2 separate regions of the Homo sapiens genome follow, and region 1 is linked to region 2. Evidence: promoter capture Hi-C in 16 types of primary human blood cells and fetal thymus (Javierre and others, 2016). All regions are on one chromosome and are shown on one strand. Each heading gives the region's core, a stretch centred on a gene start or on the middle of the fragment in contact. The rest is flanking DNA. Distances are from core to core; before and after follow the strand shown. Region 1 holds the start of KRTAP6-3 (keratin associated protein 6-3). Region 2 holds the start of KRTAP19-6 (keratin associated protein 19-6).

The links. Contacts are between HindIII fragments. The CHiCAGO score rates a contact against its expected background, and 5 or more counts as called.
Region 1: a contact is called between the fragment with the promoter of KRTAP6-3 here and the fragment with the promoter of KRTAP19-6 in region 2, in 1 of 17 cell types (neutrophils). The highest score is 5.1, in neutrophils.

What each region holds. Positions count from the first base shown.
Region 1 is chr21:30,590,680-30,595,640 of GRCh38, forward strand. It overlaps KRTAP6-3 (keratin associated protein 6-3), which reads left to right and starts at 1,761. Exons shown (of 1, transcript NM_001433434.1): 1 at 1,761-2,376. The coding sequence starts at 1,788. The coding sequence ends at 2,099. The HindIII fragment of the contact is 10,326 bases long and covers 28-4,961 here.
Region 2 is chr21:30,540,236-30,545,378 of GRCh38, forward strand. It overlaps KRTAP19-6 (keratin associated protein 19-6), which reads right to left and starts at 1,629. Exons shown (of 1, transcript NM_181612.3): 1 at 1,300-1,629. The coding sequence starts at 1,598. The coding sequence ends at 1,422. The HindIII fragment of the contact is 6,762 bases long and covers 1-2,174 here.

The sequences.
Region 1 (4,961 bases), core at 511-3,010, 51 kb after region 2:
ATGATTAGCTTCTCTGTGATCACATTAAGCTTATATTTCCTGCCTCTTGAAACATTTCTTTTTTCTTTTTCAATATCCTCCTCTACCTCCATAAATGCAGTCCTTAAACCACAGAGTGGCCAGGAATGGTTAGGGAAGGTTGGCTATGCAGTGAGGAAGCCGATGAAAATGTCTTTATTTACTTGCAAATATGCCTGTATGTTTTGACTAATTTATTTCTTAATCAATGGGACTAAAAATTTTCTTCCAAGTTCATATGTAGCTTATGTTCTTGGAGTAGTAAAGTTTTTTCTCTTCCATCATCCTCACTTTGGTTATATTATTAGTTGTGGTGTTCTCTTTGCATCTGAGAAAGCAATTAGAAACAATTACCCACCGTATCTCAAAATTCATGTTTTCCTCTCCTGACACATAATATTCACATATTTTACCTTCTTTTTATATTTAATGAATTTGCTTATTTTAAAATATATTAATTCCAAATTTCCAAAAGTATTGTAAAAATACTTTTCATCTTCTAGCAGAATTCCTGTTACTATTTTTTAAAGTGGTGACTTGGATAGAATAACATCAGCAAACCACATTTCTGGCCCAAATGCATTCTGGTGATAGCCTTAATTATGAGAGCTGACTTTCTATGAAGCTCCCTGTGATAATTTGTCACGTTTATTCCATCCACTTATTAAATATTATTAATGAATTATTAGTCATTTATTATGATAAAGCAATTAGAATAAAATATAAACAAATAATAGTACATATTAATTCATTTGCTACTCTTAAATGTAGCAGAACTACCAATGATCAACCTAGGGATCATACTTTGTAGATCAATGTGAGACTGGCAAAGTATCATATCAATAAGAGGCAAGTAGAACATTTAGTCAGAATTTCGGAACTGCACACAGTAGTTCATAAACTTTAGTGGATATATACCACCACCTTAACAATCGGAAAAGGCATGGATTCTCAAACCAGAAAAAAATCACCATGATAAATTCCTCCACTGGTTTGCATATGATCCAAAAGGATCCCAGAGTACATGAATTTATCCCCAGTTACCCCAAGCATAGAACAAAGATTGTGATTATTCTACACAGAATTTGAGTATAGAAAGTTGCATCATGTCATTCATTTGGTTATTTTTTCACTAATTCATCAAATCTTTATTAAGAATCTGCTGTATCAGGCACCGTTATAAGAAATGCAGATTGAGCAGATGAACAAAATAGACAAAGTCTCTACTTTCTGCAGGTTACAATGAGACAGAAGGGATAGAGAGACTGATTTTAAAAATGAATGAAATAGATTCTAACAGTGAAGAATCCTGTGAGAATAATAAAACTCAGTGAGTTACATTAAGTTCAGTTACTGGAGGTAGACTAATTAATATAAGGTGGCCATTAAAAGTCTCTCTGGGAAGTGAACATTTCAATTGAAATAGAAAATGAGTCAAATATTCCTGGTATTATTTTAAGAAAGAGAAATCAGTAAGTGCAGAGGCCAGGGCCTTATTGTGAGAAGAAACCTGCTGCATTTTAAAAGACAAAAAGCCAGCAGAGTTTGAGCATTATAGATAAATGGAGGAGAGTAGCAGGATATGAAATCAGAGAGATACGTAAGGGCCAGAACTTCTCAGCACAATGAAAGGCCTTTAGAGATATTTTTGCAGGGGCACGCTATGTTCTGATTCACTGAGGCATATAAAAGGCCCTCTGCGGAGAAGTGTCCATACTGAAGTCACCTACACTCCTTCCTACCCAAGGATGACCTCAACAACCAACACCATGTGTGGCAGCTACTACAGAAACTACAATGGTGGCCATGGCTATGGGTGCTGTGGCTACGGAGGCCTGGGCTGTGGTTATGGCGGCTGTGGCTATGGGTGCTGTGGCTACGGAGGCCTGGGCTTTGGCTATGGAGGCCTGGACTGTGGCTATGGAGGCCTGGGCTGTGGCTATGGCTCCTTCTGTGGCTGTGGCTACAGAGGCCTGGACTGTGGCTATGGCTGTGGCTATGGCTATGTCTCCCACTCCTTCTGTGGCTGTGGCTATAGGTGCGGCTCTGGCTATGGCTCCAGCTTTGGCTACTACTATTGAGGACACCATGGGAGACTCTCACCCTCTATCCTGTGACATTGCAATTCACCAATTCTGAAGCCCACATGCTCTGAGCCTTTCCCTTGATTGATGATATCCTGCAGTGGAAGTCTAATATGATCTGTTGTTGATCTACCATCTAACCCAAAAATACCCTGAGTTTCCATCATGAAGTGGGATAAGGTGAAGTTCACCTGTCACTTCTCCTTTTATCAGGATGATGGTGTCACAGTGACTCCTTTGATGACTTTCATGCTGTAGTTTGTTTCTCTGCTGACCTAATAAACACATTTAATCCACAAGAGAAATCTTGGTGTTTGTATCTTATTTATTGTCCAAAATTTTTTTCTTTGATTTTTTGCTTTTATCGTTATTTTTTTCAACTCTTATTTTAGGTTCAAGGGTTATATGTGTATATTTGTTACATGGGTGAATTGCATGCCACTGAGGTAATATGTGAAAGGTAGTTTTTCAACCCTTACCACCCCCCACCATCCCCACTCCAAGAGTCCCAGTGTCTATTGCTTTCATGTTTATATACATGTGCACTCAATTTTTAGCTCCTACTTATAAGTGAAAACCTGTGGTATTTGATTTTCTGTTCCTGCATTAATGTGCTTAGGATAATCACCTCCAGCTGCATCCATGGTGCTGCAAAGAATATGATTTCCACTCTTTGTTGTGGCTACATAGTATTCCATGGTGCACATGAAACACATTATCTTTTGTCAACTATTGTTAGACATCTGGGTTGATTCCATGTCTTTGCTCTTGTGAATAGCACAGCGATGAACAGACAAGTGCATGTTTCTTTTTGGTAGAACAATTTTTTTTTCTTTGGGTATATACCCAGTAATGGGATTGCTGGGTCAAATGGTAGTTCTGCTTTAAGTTCTTTGAGAAATCTCCAGATGCTTTCCAGAGTGACTGGAATAATTTAATATTCTCATCACCAGTGTATAAGCATTCTCTTTTCTCCACAACCTCACCAACACGTTTTAGTTTTTGACTTTTTTAATAGTAACTATTTTGACTGGTCACTAATGTTATGCATTAACATATATATTTGTTATATATAACAAATATATGACAAATATATATGTAACACATATATAATTTATATATGTATTTGTTGTATATAACAAATATATAAAAATATATTTGTTGGCTGATTTTATAGTCTTTTGAGAAGTGCCTGCTCATGCCTTTTGCCCATGTTTAAAGGGGTTATTTGGTTTTTGCTTGTTGATTTGCTTAGGATCCCTATGGATTCTGGATATTAGACTTTTGTTGGATGCAGAGTTTGTAAATAATTCCTCCCATTCTGTAGCTATATGTTTACTCTGTAGACAGTTTCTTTTGCTGTGCAGAAGCACTTTAGTTTAATTAGGTCCACTTCTGTTTTTGTTGCAATTGCTTTTGAGAACTTAGCCAAAAATTATTTGCCAAAGCCTATGTCCAGAATCATATTTCCTAGGTTTTCTTCTAGGATTTTTATAGTTTTAGGTCTCACATTTAGATCTTTAACCCATCTTGAGTTAATTTTTGTATATGGAGGAATGTAGGTCACCAATTTAAATTTTCTGCATGTGGTTAGTCAGTTATCCCATCACCATTTATTGAATAGGAAGTCCTTTCCCCATTGCTTGGTCATTATCAACTTTGTCGAAGTTTAGATGGTTGTAGGTGTGTGGCTTTATTTCTGTGTTGTCTATCCTATTACATTGGTCTATGCATCAATTTTTATACCAGTATCATGCTGTTTTGGTTACTATATCCTTCCAGCATAGTTTGAAGTTGGGTAGTGTGATGCCTCTAGCTTGGTTATTTTTCCTTAGAAAAGAAAGGAAAGGCTCTTCTTTGATTCCACATAAATTTTAGAGTAGATTTTCCTTATTCTGTGAAAAATGATTTTAGTAGTTTTATAGAAGTGACATTGAGTCTGTAGATTGCTTTTGGCAGTATGGACGTATTAATGATACTGATTCTTCCCATACAAGAGCATGCAATGTTTTTTCATTTGTTTGTATCACTTATTATTTCTTTCAGCAATATTTTGCGAGATCTTTCACCTTCTTGATTAAATGTGTTCCCAGATATTTTATTTTGTAGGTTGTAAATCTGTTTGTCCTACACGATGGGTCATAATAATTGGATAAAAGCAGCGTTTTCAGGTATACACTGAAAGTTTCAGGGTCTCACAATGAAGCAATCAAGGTGTTGGTCAGGTCTGCAGTTTTATTTGAGGTTCTCCTGAGGAAGGACCCACTTCCGAGCGCATGTACTTGTTGGCTGAATTCAGTTCCTTGTGGTTGAATAATTGCAGGTCTCAGCCCTGACTGTTGGCTGGGGGTGTTTGCATGCTGTCTGCTGGAGAACCCAAGAGGCTTCCTTAGTTCCCTACAATGTGGGTTGCTAAATATGGTCATTTGCTTTCTCAAATCAAAGAATAGAGGGAGAGAGAGATTCTAACAAGATGGATGCTGCAATCTTTTGTGGCAATAACATACAATCATATATATATACATGTATCTGCATATTCAGTCACCTTTACTATATGCTATTTGGTTGAACCAAGTCACAGGCCTTGCTCACACTCAAGGACAGGAGATCACATGAGGGCATTGAACATCAATGAATAGAAACCATGGAGCCACCTTAGTAGTCTGCCCACCACTGAAATAAATGTTGTACATCCTTCATCATAGAAATTATGATGGTAGACTTTCCTGATAAATATGAATCTGGGGCATTTTTACAAGACATTTCTTTAATGATTTTCTGTATTTTTTCTAAGGAAATTAGTCCCTTTGTCAATTTCTAAATCCAGAGTTATCAGTTTTGGTAATATGCATCCCCCTA
Region 2 (5,143 bases), core at 379-2,878:
GTTATTTTCAAGGAAATTTTGACGAGTAGTCAGCAGACCAATAGCAAAACTAATGAAAACTAATTATCTAAGTTATCCTCCAGAAAATTAAAAATTAAATTGGTAAAAATGTTGTCATGGGGTTTTTCTTTTCTTTTTTTTTCTTTTCTTTTCTTTTCTTTTTTCTTTTTTTAAACAGAGTTTCATTCTGTCACCCAAGCTGGAGTGTAGTGACATAATCTCGGCCCACTACAACTTCTGCCTCCCAGGTTCAAGCGATTCTCCCACCTCAGCCTCCCAAGTAGCTGGGACCACAGGCACGTGCCACCACACCCAGCCAATTTTTGTTTTTTTAGTAGAGACGGGGTTTCACCATGTTGACCAGGCTGGTCTCGAACTCCTGACCCTGGGTGATCCACCCGCCTCGGCCTCCCAAAGTGCTGGGGTTACAAGCATGAGCCAGCGTGCCCGGCCTCTCTCGGTGTTTTTAATTCAGACATCCCTCAGGTTTACTTTTGAGAAATAATATCTTTTGGGAAGCAAGGCTTGAACTCTACAGGTAGGAACACAGAAAGACAAGTAATTTAACTTGTCAAGGAGGTAGAGTAGATTCTCATATGTTCAATAGTTTAAAATTGATTATACATAAAGGACATTATACATTTGATAAGTCAGTGTTGGGTACATGCGAGCTTTGATAGCATTCTTTAGACCTTACGTATTATTACAAATATTATTTATATTAACTCAATGTTTTATTTAAAATTCGCTTTCATTGATTAACATAGAATTACTGTGCTTTGAGATAAACCTCAGAATACAAACACACTAATTGGAATGAAGATTGCAATAAGTTATTGTTTAAAACTAAGTCATAAAAATAATAGTGTACATAATCATATTCTAAAAACAAAATCACACACAAAACCACTGAAAACAGATAAAAAGTAAAGACAGATGAAAGTACACAGTGATTTTGTCCATCTTATTCTTTTATATCTTCAGGACTTAGAATGGTGCCCAAATTTGGAGACACACAATGAATATATGTTGAATAAAATATATTATTGAGGCAAAACTGTTGAAATAAAAACACCAATTCAGAGGAAAGAAGACAAACAGCTTGATTGAAGTCTCATCAATGCATTTGAAATGTACTAAAATGAATTGATAAAGCCATGTTTGCTATTCAAGTTAAACGTGTTTATTTAAAACTATTTTAAAATACATGTCACAACAGATGTCAGTGACTAAATAATAATAGGTGAAACCCTGATTCAATGTAATGATTCCAGATTCTTCCATAAAAACTGATGGCTAGTTCCTTCTGGAGCATGAAGCCAAAAAATGGTAGGTATTTTCTCTACATTGAGAAAAGTGTTCGCCTTGCTGAAGCATACGGGCAAGATCTTGGAGTTAGAGTATGAGAATCAGCAAGTTTTTTAGTAGAATCCAGAGAATCCATATCCTTCACGGCATGATGGGCGGCAGCAGCCATATCTATAGCCTCCATAGCCAGAGCCATATCTGTAGCCTCCACAGCCACAGCCATAGCCCAGACCACCAAAGCCTCCACAGCCATATCCCAGGCCTCTGTAGTAGCTGCCATAGTATCTCATGGTGTCAGGGACTAGAGATTCAGTTCAATGCTAATGATGAGTTTCCTGAGTGTAGGTGTCTCTAACTTCTCAGAATGATTTTATACTCTAAGTAGTGGGTGTCATGAACAACAATGACAGGTGATCTTATTTCCACATAACAGAATAATTTTAAGTCTAACAATTGTTTATTTTTTTTCTTTTCTTATGTAACAAAGGGTCCAAACTATTATTTAAAGACTTTTAGTCTTTAGTTTGCATTCCTAAGAACAAAATATTTTGAAGATGAAAAATGATTATAGCCACTTCAAAGGCCAGGCTGGTGTTGTAATTAAAATGGTCTAATCGGGTTGATAGCTTCCAGTAACGCTGTAATTACATAACCTCATATTGCTTTTCTTTTTAATTTGCAGTCCATCGTCTTGGTTACTTCATTCCCAGAACCCAAGGACTTCTCTTCATGGTAGTCAGGGCATAGTCACAAAGTCATTAGTGATTTCCAGTAGTCAAATTTAGAGGAAACCTTGGTTTTTGACTCATTTGAACTTTAATTGACCTTTGACATTGCTAACCTTCCATCCATTCATTCTTTTGTAAAGCTTTCTTGCCTTAATTTCTATGAGAAACCTTCAATTAGCTTCCTCTGCCAATTTTTTGTTAGGCTTCTTCCCAATTTTTTATTCATCCATTAACTTCAAAAGTGTACCTTTTCCTCTGCATACACTTTTCCCATGAAGTTCCATTAAATATTATTTTTCTTTTTTCAAATTTTATTTTTAAGAATACATAGTAGAGTATATATATCTATGGGGTATATGAAATACTTTTATACAGACATGACAATGCATACTAATCACTGGTTAATGGAGTAATAATCACTGGTAAATGATAAATAGGGTATCCATCCCCTCAAGCATTTATCCTTTGTGTTAAAGCAATTCAATTACACTCTCTTATTTTAAAATGTTCGATTAAATCAATAATTTAATTTAAATGCAATTTAATTATACATTTTAAAATAACTAAGAGAGTATAACTTAGTATGGCCACACTTTTGTGCTATCAAATACTAGGTCTTATTCATCATTTCTATTCCTTTGTACCCATTAACCACCCCTACTCCTCCATCACTCACATCCCTCCCCACCCCTACCCTGCACCCACCTACTCCCCTTTCCATTCTCTGTTAACCATCCTTCTAGTCTCTATCTCCATGAGTTCAATTGTTTTCAATTTTTAGCTCCCACAAATAAGTGAGAACATACAAAGTTTGTTTTTCTGTGCCTGACTTATTTCACTTAGCATAATGACGACCAGTTCCATCCATTCTGTTGCAAATGACAGGATCTCATTATTTTTTATGGTTGACTAGTACTCCATTGTGTATACATACCACATTTTCTTTATCCATTCATCTGTTGGTGGAAAATTAGGTTGCTTCCAAATCTTTGCTATTATGAACAGTGCTGCAACAAACATGGGAGTGCACATATCTCTTTGATATACTGTTTTCCCTTCCTTTGGATGTATACCAGGCCTCCATAGTAGCTGCTGTAGTAGCTCATGGTGTCAGGGACTAGAGATTAGGTTTGATGCTAAAGATGAGTTTAGCACCAGCAGTGGGATTTCTGTGTCATATGGTAGCTTCATTCTTTGTTTTTTGAGAAACCTCCAAACTGTTCTCCATAGTGGTTGTACTAATTTCCATCCCCACTAATAGCGAATGAGGATTCCAAAACATCTATTTGGTTCTTTTGTCCATTTCTAATCAGATTATTAGATTTTTTTTTTCCGTACAGATTTGTTTGAGCTCCTTATATATTCTGGTTATTAATCCCTTGTCAGATGCATAGTTTACAAATATTTTCTTCCATTCTGTGGGTTGTCTCTTCATTTTGTTGATTGCTTCCTTTGCTGTGCAGAAGCTTTTTAACGTGATGTAATCCTATGTGTCCATTTTTGCTTTGGTGGCCTGTGCTTGTGGAATCTTACTCAAGGAATTTTTGCTGAGACCAATGCCCTAGAGAGTTTCCCCAATGTTTTCTTATAGCAGTTTCATAGTTTACTTTTATTTAAGTCTTTAATTCATTTTGATTTGATTTTTGTATATGGGGAGAGATAGGGGACTAGTTTCATTCTTCTGCACATGAATGTACAGTTTTCCCAGCACTATTTATTGAAGAGACTGTCTTTTCCCATGTGTATGTTTTTGGCACTTTTGTCAAAAATGAGTAGGTGTCTGAACTTGTTTTTGGGTTCTCTCTTCTGTTCCGTTGGTCTATGTGTCTGTTTTTATTACAGTACCGTGCTGTTACTGGTTACTATCGCTCTGTAATATAATTTGAAGGTAATGTGATCCTTCGTTTTGTTCTTTTTCCTCAAGATAACTTTGGTTGTTCTGTGTCTTCTTTGGCTCCTTAAAAATTTTAGAATTTTTTTTTCTATTTCTGTTAAGAGTGTCTTTGGTATTTTAATAAGATTGCATTGAATCTTTAGAGCACTTTGGGTAGTATGAACATTTTAACAATATTGATCCAATCCATGAACATGGAATATTTTTTCCATTTTTTGTGTCCTCTTAATTTTTTCATCAGCATTTTATAGTTTCATTGTAGACGTTTTTTACTTATTTGGTTGCACTAATTTCTAAGTGTTTAAATTTACATGTCACTATTGTAAAAGGGATTACTTTTTAAATTTCTTTTTCACATTGTTCACTGTTGGCATATAGAAATGCTACTGATTTGTGTATGTTGATTTTATATCCTGCAAATTTACTGAATTGTTTATCAGTTCTAATAATTTTGACTGAATCTTTAGGTGTTTTTAAATGTCAAATTACATCATCTGCAAACAATGACATTTGACTTCTTCTTTTCTAATTTGGATGTACTTTATTTCATTCTCTTGTCTCACTGTTCTGTTTAGCACTTCCAGTACTATGAATAAATATGGTCAAAGTGGTCACCCTCCTCATGTTCCAGATATTAGAGAAAAAACTCTCAGTTCCTCCATCCCCCCTTTTTTTGTTTGAGATGGAGTTTGGCTCTTGTTGCCCAGGATGGAGTGCAATGGCGCGATCTCGGCTCACTGCAACCTCCACCCCCCGGGTTCAAGCGATTCTCCTGCCTCAGCCTCCCAAGTAGCTGGGATTACAGGCCTGCGCCATCACACCTGGCTAATTTTGGATTTTTAGTAGAGACAGGGTTTCTCCATGTTGGTCAGGCTGGTCTCCAACTCCCGACCTCAAGTGATCCATTCGCCTTGGCCTCTGAAAGTGCTAGGATTACAGGCATGAGCCACTGTGCCCGGCCCTCCATTTTTGTAATAAAGGAATGTTGTTATATCAAATGCTTTTTTTAGCATCAATTGAAATGATCATATGGTTTTTGTCCTTCATGCTGTTGATACAACACATCACACTGATTGATTTGTGTATACTGAACTGTCCTTGCATCCCTGGAATATATCCCACTTCGTCATGATGAATGATCTTTTTAATGTGTTCTTTGATATCATTTGTTAGTATTTTGTTGGGGATTTTTTCACCTATATTCATCAGAGAC